Regions from separate parts of the Homo sapiens genome. Here regions 2 and 3 are each linked to region 1. The links are contacts of gene promoters, found by promoter capture Hi-C in human tissues and cell types (Jung and others, 2019). All regions are on one chromosome and are shown on one strand. Each heading gives the region's core, a stretch centred on a gene start or on the middle of the fragment in contact. The rest is flanking DNA. Distances are from core to core; before and after follow the strand shown. Region 1 holds the start of NPY5R (neuropeptide Y receptor Y5). Region 2 has its middle 380 kb from the start of FSTL5. Region 3 has its middle 460 kb from the start of MIR4454.

Region 1 (4,639 bases), core at 1,102-3,601:
TGCTGAATATAATGAATACTTTATGTAGCTACTGATAGATTGATAAGCAAATTTAAAAAATTCTCTCTTAGCATTCATTCATTCAACATTCATTTATTCATTTTATTTTGGTGTGACTGTAGTCAACTTTCTCCTGCTCTCCCTCTAGCCCCACCCCACACCATCTACCACATAAACATACACACATGTAATATCTAATATATAGTCTGCACAGAATGAACATTCTGTGAATCTTTGCTCCAATGAAGGAAGAATTTCTTCTTACGACTAAATAATGAATATTGCAAATGCTGGAGGCAGGGAGGGGGGGTGGGGGAGGGGTGGTGGTGGACGTGTAGTTTTTTTAAAAGTGCCTCCTGGTAGCCAGGGGATAGTTTAAACATTAGGAAAATTTTGTACAATAAGATTTAAGTTGAAAATCTAAGGTACAGGAACGCACTTAAAATGAAAAAACAAACAAAAAAGCAGGATTTTTTCCATTAAACTTACCCTTTCCCTTCCTTTTTCCTGAAAAACACAATGAGCAGACCTACAATGGAAATCCAAATTTCAACAAGTGTTATTACGAGTGCTGTACATTTTTATGCAACATATTTTATCTATTATAAAAGTAATGATATATGTGAATCTTCTGAAATTGCTATATAAATTATGAAATATAGCCAGAGAAAAAATATTTTAACATGGAATATTATTTGACAAGAAATCTGATATTGACAGCATGAGACTTTTGTCATACCTAATTACTATATTTACTCATTCTCTTTTGTATTAGTTGTATCTCCCACCATCAGAATTTCCAGGCTGAAACACAGAACTTTAATCTCTGAGTAAAAAGTGTGAAAAATAAAAGTTCTTTATTAAACTATGGCAACTTATAAAAAATAATATCTTTTTAAAGGTTTACTGGAATTTTCTTATAAACTCTTCTATATCTGACACCTAGACAAATGAAACCTTCTGAATAGATTTTAAGTATTTTAAGAAAGTAGATAGTTCTCAAGAATAATAGGAGGAACTGCAGGGAATTCAAAGGATATTAAAAGTCTGACTTGTACATTTAAATAAGGTTTCTTTGTTTGAATAATTTTTTGCTTTATGAAAATACACATCATTCTTTTCACAAAGGATGACAATCACACAAAAGAATAAAATATATGTAATTCTTTTTCCTCCTGCAATGATACAATATCAACTATTGTCTGTTTTGCTGTGATCGTGGAACAGCAGCATGATTCCATGTTCTCAAATATTCCCATGGTTTGTTCTTAAAGCCAGAATCTGGCACAATTTGAATTGGAAAGATAAATACAGCTCTGCTCAGCTGACAAACACACAGGCATGCACCACCCTCCCTTCCAAATTCTAACAGCAGAGTTTCTCTTCCCTTGAGAAATCTGAAATCTAAAATTGCATTCGGACTGCAAAATTCTGCTGAAAGAGCCTTAGGCTATTTTCCATGGTCTAAGGTAAAATCGTTTTGGCTTTGGTCCAACACAACGCCTCAGTTCCTTTAAAAGATTAACTAAAGGTCTGTGAACTTGGAAAAAAGAATTCCCGTTTCTGGAATTCGAGTTCTATGGATGTTTGTTATTGCTCGCATTTGTTATATGAAGACACCTCGCAAACAGGAGCGCAAACCTTAGAGCGCAGCTGCCTCCCGGGCTCGGGTCAGCGCTGGACCGCGCGGCAGCTGGACGGCCTGAGTGGCGCCCCGCGGGCTGCGCCCCCGGCCTCGCCAGAGACCCGCTAGGGTTGAGCCCTGACCCGGGCACCCCGCGGGCTGCTGTTCCCAGCTCCGGATGCCAGCCGGGCTGCAGCCAGAGCGCGTCCAGCCGGGGGCAGCGCTTTGTCCATCCCCCGCCCCATCCCCAGGAGGCTCCTTCGCGGATCCCCGACACTCTCCTCCCGGGTTCGGCCCGCGCCTGCTCCACCCGGGTGAGTTGGGAACCGGAGGGACCTGCTCGGCACGAAAGAATTCAGCCCAGTACCCTCTCCGCTGTCTCTTCACTCCTGACAAGTGCCTGTTCCGCCACCCTAATCCCCATTTTTCCAGCCGCGCTCCCTTCACCTTCCCCACCCCGCTCTCTTGGGACCCCCGACAACGCCCTGGCACCAGAGACGGGTGCGGGCTCCCAGGGACCTGCGCAGACTCGCAGCCCGCGCGGGGACCCGCCACGGCCCCTCGGTGCAGGCCTACCCGGCGCGAAAGGGGTTGGCAGGGAGGGGCGGGAGCCCGTACCTCGGGGCGCCCCGGCCGCTGCAGGCCCTGGGCTCCCGGGAGCGCGGCCCAGCGCGATCGCTCCTGCACCCCGGCGGTGGCGGCAGCAGCGGGAGCAGGACCTGGAGGCGGCGGTGGGGAAGAGGGGGCGGGGGTTTAACGGCGTCTCGAGAACACGTGACTGTTCCGGGGACCCCCGAGACCCTGCTCCAAGGCGCCTGCTCCGCGCCAGCCTCTTCCAAAGCCGGGGGCCGGGGGCGTCCCAGACCTACGCCGCTGTTTGGGCGCTCTAGGGAGAAGCCACAGGGCCCCGGGATGTCGTCCCTTCACCCTGGCCTCGGGTCCCAGGCCGACCAAGTTAACTTGATGGGCAAATCGAGTTTTGCCGGTCCAGCCCTCAACCCTGTGTAGTGAACTCTGAGAAGTCTTGGACTGGTGTGAGGATGGCTGTGCCCCTAAGTTCTTAGTATTCCTGAGAACAAGCTTCGACTCTCAGGTTTTATCTTTGTTTGGGGTGGGGGACGGTGGGGGGTGGTGTGGTGATAGAAAGAAAGAAAGAAAAAAGACAAAACACTGCTCTTCCTTTGCACCTCTTTGAAGTAAGGAAGAGTGGAGGTGGGGAGGCTGACCCAATGTTCAGGAGAGGCAACAGCGTCTGCGGTAATGAGCCCAGCAGAATAGAAGGGAAGTTTCCCCACTCCAAGGAGTGGCAGCTGTGGGTGTGGGCAAGTGGCAGGAGCAGGGGAGTGAAGCTGAAATGAAATCAACGCTGCTCAAGACTATATTCAATAGCAAAGAGAAGACGAAGGGCTAAAAACGAATTGTCACAGGTTAAAAAAAAAAAAAGACGGGAAAAAAGCCCACACAAAAGAAGAAGAGAAAACCTGTCCTTCTGTTCCTTCCCAACATGATTTCCATCCCTAATGTTTCCAAATCTGTATTGCGCAGGTTTGCTTTATTTTTAGCTAATCATTAGGTGGCAGGTACTTTAGGCGCGCGCGCGTGTGTGTGTGTGTGTGTGTGTGTGTGTGTGTGTGTGTCTGTGAGAGAGAGAGAGAGAGAGAAGGAGAGAAGGGAGAAAAGAGACATTGGGTAGATGTCCATGTGTCTTTGGACATAGCTTTACCATGAGAAAGGGTGTAGTTATTGTACCCTTTAATACTGAGAACTATTATGTAACAGACAGCATCTCCTGCTGAGTAGAGTCGTGTGGGATAAACCGAAGAGAACTGTACCCCTTGGGAGCAATGTGACTTGTAATTCTAACATCTGGGGCAGACATCACTGTTACAGAAGAGGTCAAAGAAAATTTTTTGTGTCCCCTTTCTGCTGGATTTCAGCATTCAATACTCAGGGGATCTGTATAGATTGCTATTTCATCAGTCAAAGAGTCATCCAAGAGCTTTTAAAGAACTCAAGTAAACACAGTTCCTGTTTTATTCTTCTGTGTGTTATTTCTGAAATATTAATATATTCTCCCCAAAAGCTTAACAGAATAGGCCGTCTGAGCAGGCACCTGGGATTCTGCAGTAAGGAGTAGGGGATGAAAGTGTCAAGAAGGGATGACCTTGAGAAAATAAGGCTTGTTTTTTAGACTTTCTTAACTCCACTGTCTCTGCGGTTAATGCAGTACACATTGCCACATAAATTTCTATCTTTCCATCTCTTGCACAGTCATAACATGTACACTTCAAATACACATTGTCTTTAAAACAAATTCCAAGTGAACCCCATTGTGACTTTCAAAACACTAGTCTATGCTACAGGCTTTTGCATATTAAAAGTATTAAAAAATCTTATTTTTTATTTTCCACAAATTTGTTTTCTATTTTGATGATATGAACCTTTAGGTTGAAGTCACTGTTATTAGAGTATTGAAAATAAAAGGCTACCTGCCACTGATACAAAGATTCTAATTAACCTGGCTATTTTCCCTTCCCACTGCACCCACAAACAAGCAAGTCTCAAAAACAGGAGTTGGCATTTCTTCTTTAAATACACGTGACAATACACAGTATTAAGAACACTTGGAGTGGACAAGTTATTAAGAGTTTTTTTGAGGAAATTATAAATTTACAAATTTAAGCAATATGCTACATAAAGAGGAAGATATGAAGATAAGTGTGTTTTTACCTTTAAATTTCCCAGGGGGGATTTGAGACTGATCATCATTACTCTTTGTAGAACATAATAATTTTATTTTTATTTTATGGAGTAACATCTTAGCGAAGGGGAATACCAGAACAGAAGTAGTAATGTCCACCTCTGTTTTATGTATTTTTCCTACTCACTATTTATAAAATGCTCATTTGGGAAATTAAGTTGGATTTTATGCATGTTACAAAATTAAACTGGCTATTGCCCTGTTATTACAGTTCATTATCAGTTATGAAAGAAAGCTTATCTGTAAAGGTAAAA
Region 2 (4,639 bases), core at 1,105-3,604, 800 kb after region 1:
AGGTTTAGTGTTCCTATCAAACTACTAATGACATTCTTTATAGAATTAGAAAAAAGCTATTTTAAAATTCACATGGAACCAAAGAAAAGCCTGAATAGCCAAGGCAATCTTAAGCAATAAGAACAAAGCTGGAGGCATTACATAACCTGACTTCAAACTATACTACAAGGCTACAGTAACCAAAACAGCATGGCACTGCTGCAAAAACAGACACATAGACCAATGGAACATAATAGAGAGCCCAGAAATAATGGACACACCTACAACCATCTCATCTTTGACAAAATCAACAAAAACAAGCAATGGGGAAAAGACTCCCTATTCAAAAATGGTGCTGGGATAACTGGTTTGCCATATGCAGATTGAAACTGGACCCCTAAAGTCAACTCGAGATGTATTAAAGACGGAGAAAATGCAAATCCTAAAACTATAAAAATCCTGCATTATAACCTAGGAAATTCCATTCTGGACATAATTTCAATAATGATTTCATGATTAAGATACCAAAAGCAATTCTAATAAAAACAAAAGTGGATAAATGGAATCTAATTAAACAAAAGAACTTCTTCACAGCAAAAGAAACAATCAACAGAGTAAACAAACAATGGGAAAAACATTTTGCAAACTATGGATCCAACAGAGGTCTAATATCTAGAGTCTATAAGGAATTTAACTTTACAAGCACAAAACAACCCTATAAAAAGGTAGGCAAAGAACACGAGCAGATACCTTTTAAAAGAAGACGTATATGCTTCCAACAAGCACATGAAAAAATGCTCAACACTGCTGTTAGGAATGTAAATTAGTTCAGCCATTATGGAAAGCAGTTTGGTGATTTCTCAATAAACTTAAAAGAGAATTACCATTTGACACAGCAATCCCATTATTAGGTATATATCCAAAGAAATATAAATCATTGCACCATAAAGACACATGCACCTGTGTGTTTATTTCAGCACTATTCATAATAGCATAGACATGAAATCAACTTAAATGCCTATCAAAAGTAGACTGGATAAAGAAAATATGGTACATATACACCATAGAATACCATGCAGCTATGAAAAGAATGAAATCTTGTCCATTGCAGCAATGTGGTTGGAGCTGGAGGCCATTATCCTAAGTCAACTAACACATGAACAGAAAACTAAATACCACATGTTCTCATTTATAAATGGGAGCTAAACATTGAGTACTATGGACACAAAGAAGGGAACAACAAAAAATAGGGCCTACTTGAGGGTGGAGAGTGGGAGGAGGATGCAGATTAAAAAGCTACTTAGTAAAAGGAAAACTACAAAACACCACTGGAAGAAATCACAGATGACACAAACAAATGGAAACACTTCCCATGCTCATGGATTGGTAGAATCAATATTGTGAAAATGACCATACTGCCAAAAGCAATCTACAAATTCCATGCAGTTCCCATCAAAATACCACCATCATTCTTCACAGCACTAGAAAAAAACAATCCTAAAATTCATATGGAACCAAAAAGAGTTTACATGCCAATGCAAGTCTAAGCAAAAGGAATAAATTGGGAGGCATCATATTAACTGACTTCAAACTGTGCTACAAGGCTATAGTCACCAAAACAGCATGGTACTGGCATAAAAATAGGCACATAGACCAATGGAATTGAATAGAAAACCCAGAAATAAACCCAAATACTTACAGCCAACTGATGTTTGACAAAGCAAACAAAACATAAAGTGGGGAAAGGACAACCTGTTCAAAACATGGTGCTGGGATAATTAAGCCACATGTAGAAGAATGAAACTGGATCCTCATCTCTTACTTTACACAAAAATCAACTTAATGGATCAATGACTTAAATCTAAGACCTGAAATCATAAAATTTCTAGAAGATAACGTCAGAAAAACCCTTCTAGACATTGGCTTAGGCAAAGACTTCATGACCAAGAACCCAAAAGCAAAGGCAACAAAAACAAAGATAAATAAATGACAATTAAATTTAAAAACTTCTGCACAGCTAAAGAAATAATCAGCAGAGTAAACAGACAACCCAGAGAGTGGGAGAAAATCTTCACAATCTACAAATCGATAAAGGACTAATATCCAGAATCTACAAGGAAGTCAAACAAATCAGCAGGAAAAAAAATCCCATCAAAAAGTGGGCCAAGGAGATGAACAGACAATTCTCATAAAAGATATAAAAATGGCCAATGAACATATGAAAAAATGCTGAATATCACTAATTATCAGGGAAATGCAAATCAAACCAACAATGCAATACCACCTTACTCCTGCAAGAATAGCCATAATTTAAAAGTCAAAAAATAATAGATGTTGGCATGGATACAGTGAAAAGGGAAAACTTTTACACTGCTGGTGGGAAAGTAAACTAGTACAACCACTATGGAAAACTGTGGATTTAACTATTCAAACAATACAAATTGTATGTAGAAAAGTTGAATTATCTCTCCATTCTTCTCCTCCATATTATTTTCCCCCAAAGTACCAAACTTTATCAGGTAGTTGTGCAACTTTGAACAATTATCTCTGTGTTTAAATAAACATATTGAAAAGTGTGTATTACATATAAAGTTTTACTTATTGCTTTTTAATAGGAAATTTACTCCACAACTTATTTATTCATTTAATATTGCATTACCAATATGTCATCATGTTCTTTCTTTCTCTGTCTTTGCATGTGAGGTATATATGTATATGAATTCATGTAATTGTTTGTGATTGATTACAAACTATTTGAGGCATGAAATTATGACCTTATTAGAGAAAAGTTAGGTTGGCATGACAACCATATACCGTTTGAAATTGCAGGTTGTTTGGATCCAAATGTATAAACTTTATGGTTACTTCTTATATATTACACATATATATACACACACATATATATACACACACATACATACATATATATGTATCTCCACACACAAACACACACATTTTATATATATACACATATTATACCTATAATTTCAAATGTGTGTATTTTAAACACTATCATCACTATTATTTTAACAGCTGTAAAGTAGAAGATATATAAATATACTTTGCTAACTAATGATAATATTTAAACCACATAAACTCTCCTTCTCTTTTCAAAATATCTTAATATGTATATAACAACCATTTCTTAGAATTATATCATTGGGAATAAAGAATCCAGAACAGAAAAGGGAAATCTTAGTGAACACTAATTTTTTTGGGCAATATTTATGCTTTCTTACAAAAGCTCCAGTACTATTGCCATGGAAATGTGTATGAGTGTTTTTAGGGTAACTGTGAAAGAAAAACTAATGGGTTCTAATTTCAAACATTAAAATTGTGTAATTATTTTAAGTTTTTAAAATACTTTCTCATAATCTAATGATAACGCTAAAAGCTTTATGCTTTTTTTCATAAGTGACTGTAAATCTCTTTTAGTGCTGGAAGCAAAAATTAAAATGTAAATTATCTGCTATATTAAGTATTTTAATTACAATGAAAGAATGGAAACAGCTCTATTTCAATAAGTAGATTATGTTAAAAATGATAATGAACCTTTTGATAATGTGATTGTTAGTATATCAGGATCAGGAGAGAATTGAAGGAAGATGTACTGAGACTTATGATGTGCCAGACACTGTACTTTGAGTTTTGAATACATTGTCTAATCTAGACACAATAACAACCTTTTAGAAAGGAGCAATGCAGATGAACATCTATATTCATAAATAATGCACTCCTAAGAACTGCTTGGAAAATGAATATGAAAAGAGTCACTTTTTACTTACATAGTAAAAGTGTACCCAATTCTGAATATGAATAAAATATAAGATTAAATAAGATTTGCTTAACTCTTGTTATTATAAAGGCATAAATGGTAATTTAAATAATAAATATTTATTATATATCTAATATTTATGATGCAAATTAGTTTCTAAATTTATTTTTCTTTAACATTATATATTTTATAATTGGATTTGTGAATTTTTTTCTTCTCTTAAATGTCACAGCAAAGATCAGAGGAATTATATATTATGTTGTATTTTTATCTATAGGGAAATCTGACTTCTAGAATGAGCAATCAGAAACACTGGATCAAAGGAAATGAGTTAATGAAAATCCTCAGCTTGCAATACCATTTAATAAATAGAACTTTGCTATCAGGAAGAGGAACTTGGTAGTAGTAGATTGAGAATGGGAGGAGTCTGAGGATAATATAATATCATCATGTGGTCATAATTATTGAAAAAATATTGTTGTTTGAATGGTCCTCTTTATGACAAAACCACAGATAAATTGTATCAGTATCAAGAGCTATATAGACCAACCCATGTCATTTTACATTTGTATAATAGCAATTATTTAATGTGAATGTGATCTTTATTTTTTATCACTATCCATCATCTTCATACACAATTATCATAGCAAAATTGTACTATTTTAAATGTCTTATGTTCCTTCTACATGTGAGCATACTTTATACCTACTTACACACACAAAAGAAACCTGTCCCAATGAGAGCAAATATGTTTTTGTTTAGATAGTGTTTTTATATCTAATCATTTCTATCTTAAAAAAATAGTACTAGTGATTCAGGAAGACTTTCATTTCAATGTTTCCCTCTGTGTCACAAGAGCAAGAATCAGTAAAGTAACTACATAAT
Region 3 (4,639 bases), core at 640-3,139, 710 kb after region 1:
ACCCTTGCTTTATGCTACCATAAAACACCCAACTTAACTGTTCATTGTTTACTACCATCTTGCTCCTTCAACCATGAGATCCTTGAAGACAATTTACCTTAGCTTGATGTCTTCCCATTGCCAGCAAGTAGGACTGTGACTGGAATGTAGTAAAAACTATAAAAGTGTTTATTAAATGAATGGTTTTAAAAGGCACAATTTATATATTTCTTTTCTCTTTATATTCTTTTCAAGTTTTATTTTCTTTTTTGGTTTTTGTTGTTATGTATTTAAGGTGTACACCCTGAGGATATGATACATGTATGCATTGTGAAATAGTTACCTTAATCATATTAATTAATATATCCATCACCTCACTTAATTATCATTTGCTAAGATCTACTCTCTTAGCAAATTTCCAAGTATAGAGTAGTGTTACCTATAGTTACCATCCTATATATTAAATCTACAGAGATGATTAATCTGACATAACTGAACCGTTGTACCATTTGACCAATTCTTATTTTCCAGTGTCTATAGATATCCTTCATTCTAGTCATATTCTGTAGTGAGATAGTAAGTTAACGGAATACAGTATTAAATTTGATCCAAATTCAAAGTGCAATTTAGTGTAATCTTTTAAAAAGCTGTTTTAATATGGCATACTCTTTCAACATTTTAAATATTTTTATTATAGTAACCTGCTTAATTTGTGTTTTTCAAAAATGCCTTTGATTTTTTTAAAAAATTTATTTTCAATGTTTGCGAGTACATAGGTGTATGTATTTTTACTGTACGTGAGATATTTTGATACAGGCATACAGTATATAATAATCACATCAGAGTAAATGAGGTATTCAATACCTTGAGCATTTATCCTTTCTTTGTGTTACAAACAATGCAATTATACTGTTTTACTGATTTTGAAATGTACAAGAAATTATTTACTGTAGTCATCCTGTTGTGGTATCAAATGCTAGATTTTATTCATTCTATCTAACTATATTTTTATACTCTTTAATCATTCCCACTTACCCCTTACTCTCACTACCTTTCCCAGCCTCTGGTAACCATCATTCTACTCTCTAATTCCATGAGATCTACCTTCTTAGCTCCCACATATGAGTGAGAACATGTGATATTTGTTTTTCTGTGTCTGGCTTAACATAATGATCTCCGATTTCATCCATGTGGTTTCAAATGATATGATTTCATTCTTTTTTATGGCTGAATAGTGCTCCATTGTGTATATACAATGTGTGCCACATTTTCTTTATCCATTCATCTGTTGATGGACACTTAGGTTGCTTCCAAATCTTGGCTATTGAGAACAGTGCTGCAATAGACATGAAAGTGCATATAGCTCTACAATATACCGATTTCCTTTATTTGGGTATATATCTAGCAGTGGGATTTCTGGATCATATTATAGCTCTATTTTTAGTTTCCTGAGGAAATTTCAAATCATTCTCCAAAGTGGTGGTAGTAATTTACATTCCTACCAACAGGTGCAAGGGTTCTCTTTTCTCCACATCCTCATTAGCATTTGTTATTATCTGTTTTTTTTTTTTTTTTGATAAAAGCTATTTTAACAGGGGTGACATGATATCTCATTGTAGTTTTGATTTGCATTTATCTGATGACCATTGATGTTGAGAACGTTTTCATATACTTGTTTGTCAATTGTCTTTCTTTGAGAAATGTATATTCAGATATTTTGCCCATTTTTATATTGCATTATTGAATTTTTTTCTATAGAATAGTTTGAGCTCCTCCTATATTGTGGTTATTATTCACTTGTCAGATGGATGGTTTGCAAATATTTTCTCTCCATTCTGTGAGTTGTCTCTTCACTTTGTTGATTGTTTGCTGTGAAGAAACTTCTTAGTTTGATGTGATCTCATTTGTCCATTTGTGCTTTGGTTGCTTGTACTTGTGGGGTATTACTCAAGAAATCTTTGCCTAGTCAAATGTCCTAGAGAAGTTATTTTGGTAGTTTCAAAATATGAGGTCTTAGATTTAAGTCTTTAATTAATTCTGATCTGATTTTTGTATATGTCAAGAGATGAGGTCTAGTTTTATTCTTTTGTATATGGATATCCAGATTTCCCAGCAGCATTTATTGAAAAGGCTGTCCTTTCCCCAATGTATATTCTTGGCACCTTTGTCAAAAATGAGTTCACTGTAGATCTATGGATTTGTTTCTGAGTTCTCTATTCTGTTCCATTGGTCTGCATGTTTGTTTTTATGCCAGTATCATGCTGCTTTGATACTATAGCTCTATAGTATAATTTGAAATTGGGTAATGTGATTCCTCCAGTTTTGTTCTGTTTGCTCAGGATAGCTTTGGCTATTCTGGGTCTTTTGTGGTTCCATATGAATTTCGGATTTTTTTTCTATTTCTGTGATGAATGTCATCAGTATTTTTATAGGCATTGCTTTGAATCTGTACAATGCTTTGGGTAGTATGGACATTTTAACGATGTAAATTCTTGCAAACCATAAACATAAAATATCTTCCCATTTTTTGTGTCCTCTTTAATTTCTTTTGTCATCATATTATAGTTTTTATTTTACAGATCTTTCACTTTTTTGGTTAATTCCTAGGTATTTTATTTTATTCATAGCTATTGTAAACGGGATTACTTTCTTAATTTCTTTTTCAGATTGTTCATTATTGGCATACAGAAATGTTATGGATTTTGTAGTTTTTTTCTTTTTTCAAGATAGGATCTTGCTCTGTCACCAAGATTAGAATTTAGTGGTACAGTCTGAGCTCACAGCAACCTCCACCTCCCATGCTCAAGCGATCCTCCTACCTCAGCCTCCTGTGTATCTGAGACTGTAGGCACATGCCACCACACTCAGCTAATTCTAAAATTTTTTTATAGAGATTAGGTCTCATTATATTGCCCAAGCTGGTCTGAAACACCTGGGCTCAAGCAATCCTCCTGCCTCAGCCTCCTAAAATGTTGGGACTATTGGCATGAGCCACTGGGCCCAACCTGCTACAAATTTATGTATGTTCATTTTGTATTCTGCAACTTTACTAAATTTGTGTGTCAGTTCCAATAGCTTTTTGGTAGAGTCTTTAGGTTTTTCTAAGTATGAGATCACATCATTTGCAGATAAGGATAATTTGACTTCTTCCTTTACAATTTGGATGCCCTGTATTTCTTGCTGTTGTCTTATTGCTGTAGCTTGGACTTCCAGTACTATGTTGAATTGTAGTGATTAAAGTGAGCATCCTTGTCCTGTTTCACATCTTAGAGGAAAGGTTTTCAGTTTTTCCCCATTCAGTATGATACTAGTTGTGGGTCTATCATATGTAACTTTTGTTGTACTGTGGTATGTTTCTTCTATACTCAGCTTTTTGAGTAATTTTACTATGAAGGCATGTTAAATTTTGTCAAATACTTTTTTCACCATGAATTGAAATAATCGTATGGTTTTTATTCTTTATTCTGTTAATGTGATGTATCACATTGATTAATTTGTGTATGCTGAGCCATTATTTTATCCATGTGTTAAATCCCACTCAGTCATGATGATTGCTCTTTTTAATGTGTGGTTGAATTCGATTTGCTAGTATTTTTTTTGAGGATTTTCATATCAATGTTCATTAGGAATATTGGCCTATAATTTTGTTGTTGTTGTGTCTTTGTCTAGTTTTGGTATCAGGTATCAGGAACCTAGTTTTGGTACTGGCCTTGTAGAAAGAGTATGGAAGTACTCCCTTCTCCTGTACTTTTGAAATAGTTTGAGTAGGATTGGTATTATTGGTTAATTCACCATTGAAATGATCAGATTCTGGACTTTTCTTTGCTGAGAGACGTTTTATTACAAATTCAATGTCGTTACTTGTTACTTGTCTCTTCAGGTTTTAGGTTTTTTCATGGTTCAATCTTGGTAGGTTGTATGTGTCTAGGAATTAATCCATTCATTCTGGGTTTTCCAATTTATTGGCATATAGTTGCTCACAGTAGCCTCTAATAATCCTTTGAATTTCTGCAGTATCATTTGTAATGTCTCTTTTTTTATTTCTGATTTTATTTATTTGGGTCTTCTCTTTTTTTTTTCTTTCTTAGTCTGGCTAAAAGCTTGCTGATTTTGTTTACTGTTTTTTTAAAAAAATTTTTTGTTATCTTTTGTATTGTTTACTTTAATTTTATTTATTTCTTCTCTGATCTTTATTTTTCTTTTCTTCTACTGAGTTTTGGTTGTTTGCGCTTGCTTTTCTAGTTTTCTCAGATGGATTGTTAGGCTGTTTATTTGATGTTTTTCTATTTTTTTGATGTAGGAGCTTACAGCTTTAAACTTTCCTCTTAGTATTGTTTTTGCTGCATCCCATAGGTTTTGGTATTTTGTGCTTCCATTATTATTTGTTTCAAGAAATTTTGTAATTTTCTTCTTAATTTATTCATTGACCCACTGGTCATTCAGGAGTATATTATTTAATTTCCATGTGTTTGCATAGGTTCCAAGATTCCTCTTGTTAGTGATTTCTAGTTTTATTTTATTGTGATCAGAGGAGATACTTGTATAATTTCAATTATTCTGAAATTTTAACACCTTTTTGTGGCCTAATATATGATCCATTCTTGATAATAATCCATGTGCTGAGGATGCTGTGTATTCTGCAGCTGTTGAATGAAATGTT

The links. The method cuts DNA at HindIII sites, captures the fragments that hold promoters and counts their contacts. A contact is called where the count stands out against the background at its distance.
Region 2: a fragment that was not itself captured here is called in contact with the fragment with the promoter of NPY5R in region 1 in 2 of the 25 tissues and cell types used here (dorsolateral prefrontal cortex and hippocampus).
Region 3: a contact is called between a fragment that was not itself captured here and the fragment with the promoter of NPY5R in region 1, in 1 of the 25 tissues and cell types used here (dorsolateral prefrontal cortex).

The regions. Positions count from the first base shown.
Region 1 is chr4:163,341,604-163,346,242 of GRCh38, reverse strand. NPY5R (neuropeptide Y receptor Y5) reads right to left here and starts at 2,351. Exons shown (of 4, transcript NM_006174.4): 1 at 2,243-2,351; 2 at 490-529. It also overlaps a transcript of NPY1R not described here. The HindIII fragment of the contact is 9,678 bases long and covers 1-3,206 here.
Region 2 is chr4:162,541,364-162,546,002 of GRCh38, reverse strand. No RefSeq gene overlaps it. Among named protein-coding and RNA genes, the nearest start is that of FSTL5, 380 kb to the right of the region's middle. The HindIII fragment of the contact is 3,472 bases long and covers 619-4,090 here.
Region 3 is chr4:162,631,419-162,636,057 of GRCh38, reverse strand. No RefSeq gene overlaps it. Among named protein-coding and RNA genes, the nearest start is that of MIR4454, 460 kb to the left of the region's middle. The HindIII fragment of the contact is 8,643 bases long and covers 1-4,639 here.